2 separate regions of the Homo sapiens genome follow, and region 2 is linked to region 1. The links are contacts of gene promoters, found by promoter capture Hi-C in blood cells and fetal thymus (Javierre and others, 2016). All regions are on one chromosome and are shown on one strand. Each heading gives the region's core, a stretch centred on a gene start or on the middle of the fragment in contact. The rest is flanking DNA. Distances are from core to core; before and after follow the strand shown. Region 1 holds the start of TMEM154 (transmembrane protein 154). Region 2 overlaps FBXW7 (F-box and WD repeat domain containing 7).

What was found. The method cuts DNA at HindIII sites, captures the fragments that hold promoters and counts their contacts. A CHiCAGO score of 5 or more calls a contact.
Region 2: a contact is called between a fragment that was not itself captured here and the fragment with the promoter of TMEM154 in region 1, in 2 of 17 cell types (monocytes and total B cells). The highest score is 6.5, in monocytes.

The regions. Positions count from the first base shown.
Region 1 is chr4:152,676,645-152,681,828 of GRCh38, forward strand. It overlaps TMEM154 (transmembrane protein 154), which reads right to left and starts at 3,353. Exons shown (of 7, transcript NM_152680.3): 1 at 3,226-3,353. The coding sequence starts at 3,289. It overlaps LOC105377495 (a long non-coding RNA gene), which reads left to right and starts at 3,441. Exons shown (of 4, transcript XR_939359.3): 1 at 3,441-3,660; 2 at 3,943-4,029; 3 at 4,431-4,496; 4 at 4,719-5,018. RefSeq lists enhancers at 2,987-3,816, 3,127-3,436. The HindIII fragment of the contact is 2,211 bases long and covers 2,885-5,095 here.
Region 2 is chr4:152,400,677-152,405,702 of GRCh38, forward strand. The region is part of intron 4 of FBXW7 (F-box and WD repeat domain containing 7); the gene reads right to left. Among named protein-coding and RNA genes, the nearest start is that of FBXW7-AS1, 66 kb to the left of the region's middle. The HindIII fragment of the contact is 3,406 bases long and covers 1,168-4,573 here.

The sequences.
Region 1 (5,184 bases), core at 2,103-4,602:
GAAATTGGGACTGTCCCAGGAAACAGCAGATGTCAGCCGTGTTCATTAAAATAAGATATGAGATACCACAGTGTCAGAATGTGTAGCCTTACTTACATAGCTAGTATTTTCTACTATTCTTTCTCTCCTTGTCAAGATTCATCCAATACTTATATAATTCTTATTCTTCTGAACCAGCCCAGAAAATCTCCCATTCCTCTCTGTTTGGCCACCAAAACAGTCACAGCATCCTTGTTTCTGCCTCATGGCCTTCAGCTCTCCCTTCTGCAACAATTCTGCTTTTAGCAACTAACAAATCCCATGCTTTTGGTATTTAGGAAATTGCTTTTGGTTTTCTGATAGTATTAAGCTGACACTGACAGGGCATAAAGAACAGAGACGGGGACACCCCTGCCCCACTTTACTCCATGAGCAGAACATCTCCTTGAGTTTGAACTTTCTTAGGATCCTACACTGGCCAAGGCACCTAGGCCCAAGCTTTCCTTTAACTATGCTCACCCATTCCATTATAGTCCCAGAAAAGCTGCTTTCTTATTTCTCTCCTGGTGACTTCCAAGTGAATTATTTCTCTTGGGGTAGAACTCAATTCTATGTCAGGCTATCTATCTCTAAAAAGAGAAGAGGTCGCTGACTCAGAGGTAACAGTGCTGGTCTCATGCAACTGCAGATATTATCTCATGTTGCCTGCTCGTTGTTAATAAAGGCTTAATTTGAGATACATCTCAGAGTATACTCACAAACAGTGTCAGGCCCTTCAGTAGGTTGGATTCATCTAACAAACATCCCCAGGTATTTTTTGAAGAATTCAAGGAAATATACCTGTGACACCTAGAAAGTAACTCATATCCTGAAGCCTTAGGCACTATTAGCTAAAAGTAGTGTACATTAATTAATTTTAAAAATCTTTAATTTAAAATCACCTTTTCCATGATGAATCATCTCAAAGTCATAGCTTTTATTCAACAGCTTTTTGCAAGTGGGCATTTTTCAGACATTGGGAATCCCAGCAGGGCCCAATTAGCATGTTGGATTATTTAGGTAATCCCTGCACTCTACTGAAATGCAACTTTTCATCTTTGACTTCTCTTTACATTCCAACACTACCTGTTTTCAGGAGCTATCAGTTTTTTTTGTAATCAGCCTCATATCCATTCTAGGGATGATTTTCATATTTATCAACAATTATTTTCTCATTTATGCTGAGCCCTTACAGGATTTTGGAAAGTCAAAGGTGAACTACAGAGGATTTTCCCTGGAGCTGTTCACAGCCAGTTGGGAGGCATGGACACAATTATGGTTCAAAGTGATTAGCAGAAGTTTAGGTCTATCGGGGCACAGCAGCAGGTACGAGTAGAGCTCCAGGGAAGGGGCAGAGAAAGGAGACATCAAGGAGGAGATCACATTTAGTTTGATACTTTTAAGGTGATACAAGAATTTGCTAGGTAGGAAAAAGAATGTATTCATTATAGGCAAGAGCCACGGAGGGGGACGACAACTGGAAGGAGGTGCCACTGGGAAGGAGGTTGCAGTGAGAGTCTAAGGGGCAAAAATGAGGAACAAGTGAAGGGGCATAAATGAGGGGTCCTTAAGGGGGAAGATGTGCACGATCAGATTCAGGTGTCAGAAAGGCAACTTTAACCAAGTCTCTTCAGATTCTCTTTTTGCATCTCCTGAATTGCAGACACTAGGACTCAATCATTTTTTAGAAGCTAAAAAAAAAGTTCAGGCAAGATGAATTAGTATTAAGGGAGTGTTTGAGGCACCTGTGGCAGTGTTGTGCAATAGAAGAGGTGGAAGGAGGATGGCTAGGCTTTTCTTCCCTGATGTCCTACTACGAAAGGTTCCAGAGCTCTTGGCAGAGACAGTGATTGGTTCCGGGGCGGCGGTGGGGGGAGGGGGGCAGTGGTGGTGGGGGGTGGAGGAGCTCAAAGAACTCTGGAGTAGAAGCCAGAAGAGCTGACTAGCAGCAAGACCCAGACATCTCCCTTCTTCCACCTCTGTTTCTTCACCTGTGTGCCCAATATGGTTTGAGCTGCATCATCTTCAAGTTCCCTTCCAGCTCCAAAACACTGGGCATAAAACAACACATCAACTTCCAAACCCACTCTGAACACTAAACTCAATTTAACCAGACATCTTTTCAGCTGGAATGATTTGCCTTCCACTTTGTTTTCTACCTCAGATGCCTGGGGGACCACATGGAGAACACCCAGGGGAAGAGAAATTGATGGAGTGGGGTGGCTGGGTGCTGGCTGCTGACCTCCAGGAAGTTGTCACATCTGTTAGGTTGGGGCTGATGTCCCTCATTCTATCTAAAGAACTGTAGCTTGAGAACTTTCCTTTTGCTTGGTAAATACTGCCCTACACTAGAAGCAGTCGGTGTTCATTGACAGAAACAATGGGCAGCCAGTGTATTTGCCCAAAGGCAAGTCAACAAGAGAGGCAGCTGAAGGTGCTTGTGCTTGTTGTAGCAACTGGCAAGGGTGTAAATCAGTTGTTGCTTTTAGCCCATAATAATGAGATTCAATATTGTTTTTTCCAATACCTTTGATTGGTTCCAATCATATTACTTTTTCAAACAAATCTTCATTAGTAACAATCAATGCAAAAAAAAAATCTGTAAAAGTAACAAGGTGCAATAAAAGTAGATGAAAGACCTTACTTGATGTGTTAGAGGGCTACCCTCTAACACATAGCTCTTTGGTAGCTCTTCGGATAATTTCCCGTTTCCTTTTTTTTTTTTTAAGTTTATGTCGTTTCTTTAGTATGCTTTCTAGTAGTAAATTTTCACACCCCAGTTTTTCCAGGAGATTTTGGAATCAGCAGACTTCTCAGCCCACACCATAAAAAGCAAATTAATCATGTCTCTGTTTCAGCCAATTGAAGCTTTTGTTTTTTTTTACATAAACTGCCAAAAAGTTTATGGTTTTCTTAATATGCCCATTAAAGCTGGTAAATTACAGGGACGCACACTTCCTGGAAGACAAAGACTGAAAGAGGGTTAAATGAAGTGAGAGCTGTAGCCAGTTTAGACAGCTGCAGCGAAAGCGAAGTCCCCTCTCCATCCCACCCCCCAAAAAAAGGAGTTCTAATTTTCTCCACTTCTTTCACAGAAAGGATTAGATTTTCTGGGTGTCACCCTCCCCGGCAGAGTTCTGTAGCCTCGGGCACCCTACCAGCTTTTGCGATCCTCCTTCCCAGGAGTAGGAAGTGGAGGCGGCTTACCCCGGCCGACGGGAACGAGCGCGATCACCAGGGCGAAGACTAGGGCTGCGCGGGGAGCCTGCATGTCCGCTCGCCTCGGCAGAGGCGCGCTCAGGATGCTGCGCCGGGCTGCAGCCTCTCTGAAACGTGAACATTTCCTGTTTCCTGCTTGTTTGGGTCGGTGCTGACTTGAAGGAGAGGTGTGTGCCTGTTTTTTAGGAAGTGATGTAATTCTGCAGGAGCCTGTCAGACCAGCAAGGATTGCAAAAGAGAAGTTGCTGTTGAAGCACTGGTTCTATTATCACGCCTCTCCAGCCCTTTGGAGTCCCGGCCTCCAGCTTTTGAAACCGTCCCCGGGGCAACAGAGTCCCTTGCTCAGATGTCGTTCGGTATCTGGGACTGGGAGGGGTCCTGGACCACACGCATTCTCACTCTGTGATTTTGCTTATCCCCCAGGTGAGGCTCCGGGGCTGCCTAGACCCTAGGAAGAAGCTGTCCTGTAGAACTTTCTGCCCTGATGGAAATGTTCCAAGTCTGCGCCGTCTGATACAGTATCAGCCACATTGGCCACTGAGCATTTGAACTGAGGCTAGTGCTGATGGAATTTAAATTTTATTGAATTTTTATAAAATTTTAATAACTCCAAGTGGCTAGTGGCTGCTGTGTTGGATAGCGCAGGCCCAGACAGCAGGGACAACTGCATCATCAGAAAACTGCCAGACCACTTCTCTCCGCCAGGTCCATTCTCCTTTCTCCACTCTGGAATGCCCTCCTCCCACCAAGGCCCACGCCAGATGGAGGTGGATGCCACACCCACACCTTAAGGTTATGTTCTGCTTCCCCAGAGAGAAATGATCTTTTCAAGGTCCATTTCCAAAGGAGAATATGCTCTGAGGGTGGAGGTAGGGGTGAATCTGCATCTCACCTTCCTTCCTTCTTACTTGACAATCAAGTTCTCAGACAACAAACAAAACAGGACAGAAACGAAATAGAATAATGGTAGAAATCCTATCCAATCGAAACAATACAGAAAGGTTGTGTCTAGTATACAGTGGAGATTAGTGTGTGTTGGGTGTTCTATTGGAGGTCCTTCCCTTGGTTTAGGTTTAGGGCCTAAGCATTCAGAATGCAGTTTCATAATCGTGGTGCCAAGAGAGACAGACAGATGGAGAGAGGGGTAGTGTTGAGGCATCAGACACATCTCATCTCTAAACCTTTCCCTGCAGATCACCATCTGAGTCATGACTTCCCGTCGTTTGTCTTCAGTGATCTGGTTGGTGCAAACGTATGAGGTGACTGGAATTCCTTAGCCCCTGACATAGCTGTTAATTTTTCTTTAATGCATTGCTGCTTTTCAATGTCATTAGTCACTGTTTATCTCAGTTATTATTCACAAGAAATAGGTTGGTGATTCATGTAAGGATCAGTTTGTTAATGGATTTACAGTATGCACTTTAATGTTTTAAACTGGCAATTAAGTCAATTCTTGATAAAATATGCTTTTTGCACCACAGGTGACAATACAGAACAAACAGCAGGAGAAAATAGACGTGCTCAAAACTGGGTGATTGATTTGAAAACAACAGAGAAAGAACTATTAATTAAACACTTGCTGAGCATGTGAATAGATCACGGGCTCCAAGACCTGCTGGTACTGAGTTGGGGTGGCAATTATTCCTGTACAAGCACGTGTTTCTGCAGCTGTGACACACACGTGCAAGAAAGCAGGCCCAGGGCTTGGGAGTTCTCTCCATTTTACCATTTATGCCCTATTAAAATATTATTAAATGTTATTAAAACATTGTTGAATCCCAGGCTGGAGGCAAATGTTTGTCAAGGGCAAGGTTGTCAGCCTTCGTTTCTTTCATCTTAAACTTCAGCTCCCTGTGGAAGCTTTTGCAGTCAGGTGTCTGTGGATTGGACCACAGACTGTCTTATTCTGTGGACCTCTGCTGAGCCCCATGACATGGCCAAACAGTT
Region 2 (5,026 bases), core at 1,621-4,120, 280 kb before region 1:
TACTAACAGCATGATACATGAAAGAAATAATTCATAAGCTGGACTCTACTAAAATAGGAATGTCAGCTCTCTGAAAGACACTGTCAGGAAAATAAGAACATAAGCCACAGACTGGAAGAAAGTATTTGCAAAATGCACATGGGATAAACGATTGTTATCCAAAATATACAACAGTAACAGAACAACCTGACTAAAACATGGACAAAAGATCTGGACAGACACCTCACCAAAGGAGATTTACAGATGGGAAGTAAGCACAGGAAAAGATGGTCAACATCATATATCACTAGGGAACTTCAAATGGTAACAAAGAGATACCATACACACCTATCAGAATGGTCAAAATCCAGAACACTGACAACACTATATGCCACTGAAGATGTGGAGCCACAGGAACTCTCATTCACTGTTGGTGGGAATGCAAAAGTATATAGACACTTTGGAAGCCATTTGGCAGTTTCTTACAAAATTAATCATACTGTTAACTTGCAATCCTGGAATCACACTCCTTGGCATTTACGCAAAGGAGTTAAAAACTTAGTCCATGCAAAATCCTGCACACAGATTTTCACAAGCAGCTATATTCATAATTGCCAATTATGTGGAAGCAACCAAGATGTCTTTCACTAGGGAAGTGGATAAACTGTGGTATATCCAAACAATGGAATATTATTCAGTGCTAGAAGGAAATGAGCTATCAAGCTATAAATATACATGAAGGAAAAGTCAATGCATATTACGTAAGTGAAAGAAGCCAATCTGAAAGGCTACATACTGTATAATTCCAACTATATGACATTCTGGAAAAAGCAAAACTATGGAGACGGTGAAAGGATCAGTGGCGATGAGAGGCTGGGGAAGAAAGGGATGAATAGGCAGAACACAGGACTTTTAAGGTAGTGAAACCATTCTCTATGGTACTACATTGGTAGATGCGTGTCAATACACATTTGCCCACACCCACAGAGTGCACAACACCAAGAGTGAGACCTTGGTGGAAACTATGGATTCTGGATAATGATATGACAAAGGTAGATTCACTGACTATAACAAATGTACTACTCTGGTAAGGGTGAAGCTGTACATGTGTGCACCAGGGGGCATATGGGAACTCTCTAGGCCTCTCATTCAACTTTGCTGTGAATCTAAAACTAATCTAAAAATTAAAGCTTGTTAATTTAAAAAGACAGAATGGCTAATGCAGGAAGTCTCCAAAAAACATTTCGCAGACCTCAAGGATCAATAATTCAAAGACAAGGTTTCCTTGTAAAGGACAAGTGTATTTCTTCTTACCAGATTGGAGGGATAGAAGAAAAAAGATACATATGAAATACTAGGTGAAGGAATGTAGAAATAATTCATGTTAATGGGTCATGTTTCAGTGAAGCAGAGGGGAGTGGGGGAAATTCCCTTTGAGGGGCTGAACAAGTCAACTGTTCAAACAGGTTACCAAATAATAATAAGACTATTATTATCATAATAACTGAAAGAATCAGGAATATAAAAGAAGTATACACACTGACTCCAGCTACACAAAATACATATCCATGTGGTCAATGACTGACAAGTATTATGTAAAAATTTATACACTAATTCTTTGTTGACTAATAATTAGGTTATCAGGGTACCTGATAACACAATAAATATTATTAGGCAATAAAATAAGAAATCAAAGGGCTTAAGAGAGAGGGAGAAAAACAAACTTAATACGATGAGTCACAATAAATATACCACAGTAACAGAGATTTAGTTGAGGCAACATTTGGGGACATGAAAATAAATGTTAGGGCGGTAGCTTTATAGGTTATTTCATCACAGCCCACTCATCCCAAAATTACTAATATTGTTTAACTGAATTTCCAAACGTTAACAAAAGTACAACCGGGACCCAGCATAAGATCTGAGTTCCAATCCCAACTCCACTATTTACCAGCTGACTGATACAAGATTAATTACTTAACCTCTCTTCACATATTTCTCATCTCCATTATGGGGTTAAAGATTAGAAATGACATATTAGGACTGTTAAGATAAATGAGAAAAAATATAAGTATATATACACATTCTGGGAACACATTGAAGGCATTCAGTCTGGAGAAGATCACAGATGAATATGGCAGCAATCTTCTCCTATGAAAAGAGCTGTCACTGCTCTAGGTAGAAGAACAAGGACCAAAGCAAAGTCAGAGATGTCAACACAAAATAAAGAACCCTAACATAAATAACGTCTAAAACTATGAAGATACTTCACATTGCAGTATTCCTTTGTAATGACCTCATTTGTAAGTTCAAGTCTGTTGGTAAAGCCACTGGGCACAGGTTTGGCCTTGGTGATCTCAAAGGTCCACTCCAATTTGGGGTCTGTCTTAGGAGACTTAAAATCAGGACTAAAAACCCTTAACATGTTAAATATATCATTAGTTTGATGAAATGGGGAGTTGGGAATACGGGAAGGGAGGGAAGGGAAAGCACTGATGATTTCCTCATAAAGCAGTGGCCACTTTAGAATTATGTTTTAAGGCTGGGCACGATGGCTCATGCCTGTAATCCCAGCACTTTGAGAGGCCAAGGCAGGTGGATCACTTGAGGTCAGGAGTTCGAGGCCAGCCTGGCCAACATGGTGAAACCCTGTCTCTACTAAAAATACAAAAATTAGCTGGACGTGGTGGCAAACACCTGTAATCCCAGCTACTCAGGAGGCTGAGGCAGGATAATCGCTTGAACCTGGGAGGTGGAGGCTGCAGTGAGCTGAGATTGCACCACTGCACTCCAGCCTGGGCAACAGAGCCAGACTTCATCTCAAAAAAAAAAAAAAAAGAATTGTGTTTTAAAACGGTAGTCACCAACCTTTTTGGCACCAGAGACAGGTTTCATGAAAGACAATTTTTCCATGGACAGGGGAAGTGGGGGGATGGTTTGGGATGAAACTGTTCCACCTCAGCTCACCACGCATTAGACTCTCGGAAGGAGCATACAACCTAGATCTCTCGCAAGCACAGTTCACAATAGGGTTCGTGCTCCTATTAGAATCTAATGCCACAGCTGATCTGACAGGAGGCGGAGCACAGGCGGTAATGCTCACTCACCTACCGCCCGCCTCCTGCTGTGAGGCCCAGTTCCTAACAGGCCACAGACTGGTCCATGGCCTGGGGGTTGGGGACACCCATTTTCAAAAACAGACTCTGAAATTGCTCGGAGAACGGTTTTTATATGAAAAATATTCATGTTTAGAGAGAGCCAAAAGTGCTATCAAGGCTAAAGAACTCTTCAAAGAAAACAATAAATATCTTCAAAACAAGAACGGATACTACTATGCTATTACTCTTCTAATAACGTGTTAAGTTGATCTTAGAAAATTGCCAGGGTAACACCTGAGCCCTAGAGATGTGAAGAATCAGTTACACTAGGACTTAAAGAGTTCTGTGCTCTTTCCACTATGAAATGGGGGGTTGGGAATAGGGGAAGGTTTCCACTATATTCAGCTGCATTCTCATGCAGAGATCATGATATAATGACATTTCCTGTGAGGAACATCTTTTTATCCAATCCTCCATTAGGAGCATTATACACCATGTAAAGTCATCAAAAAAGACCACATAGAATAATAATTGGTTTCCAGCAGAGAGTTATTTTTCAAATAAAGAGGCATATATGCTTGTTATAACAAAATGGAGAAATTATAAAATGTATTTAAGAAAAAATAACCTTTTATTCAACCACATTCAGAGATAATTCCTAACATTTGGTACAACTTCTTCTGATCTTTTTCTTTGCATATGTATATATGTAGATACATACACACACACATATATAAAAATGTATGTTTGCTTCATAATTAAGATCACACTGTATAGAGTTTTGAATCCTATATTTTAAATAAAATATTTTTAAGCATTTCCTGTTATTAAATATTCTTTCAAATGTGATGTTTAATGGCTGTATGAATTGCCTTCAACTGATTTCTGCATGTTAGCAAAATGATTCCTAAAGTGGGATTTTTAACTTCTCCTCAGGGCAGTCTCAATTTAACGATCTGTACATATACTGAATACCTGAGTCTTAAACTCAATTTTAATGACGTGCCCATTTACAATTTCTAGTCTAGCTTAGGTACATCTTAAGAGGTGAAATGAGGCTGGGGCATGGTGGCTCATACCTGTAATCCCAGCACTTTGGGAGGCCCAGGCAGGAAGATCACCAGAGCTCAGGAGTTTGAGACCAGGGTGGGCAACATAGTAAGACCTTGTCTTTACAGATAATTCAAAAATTAGCCAAGCGTGGTGGTGCCACGAGTGGTCCCAGTTACTCGGGAGGCTGAGGTGGGAGAATTGCTTAAGCCTGGGAGGTGGAGGCTGCAGTGAGCCATGATTATGCCACTGCACTCCATCCAGCCTGGGCAACAAAGCAAGACCTTGTCTTAAAAAAAAAAAAAAAAAAAAAAAGAGGTGAAATGACAACTGTTCACATTACAGTTTGCCAGTCTTCAATTCTCAAACTGAATTAGGACTGAAAACAAATTTACCAAATTTCTACTGCTCAAAAAAGTGAAGAATTATATGTCAACTTAAGACAAAGCTTACCAAAAATGTCACCAGGTAATACCAAATGAACTGCACCATGAAGAGAAGCAAGAACAGGTTGAAAGGAATTCGATTTTCTAAATCTAGGAAGGTATTAAGATAGGGGATTTGGACTTCGATTTGAAGGATATGGCTGGTGGGAAGGAGTATGATTCAAAACAAGTAGAGAGGAGAGGAGATGAAACCAGGTAAAAACTATGGTAAGATATTGGAAGACTTCAAACATTCTCATTTAGGTTTGGCTTTATCAGTGGGAAATGGGGCACCAGATATCTGTATTGAGGTTATTATCTATACAGAGCTAAAAATTCATTTTAAAAAACTCATCCAATTATTCATACTGCCAACTCATTGTCAAGGACGTGGCGTTATAGCCTGATGCAAACAGAAGCCCAAGCAAAAATGCTCTTAACGTTTTTAAACACTGACCCTCCAATTTTTATCTT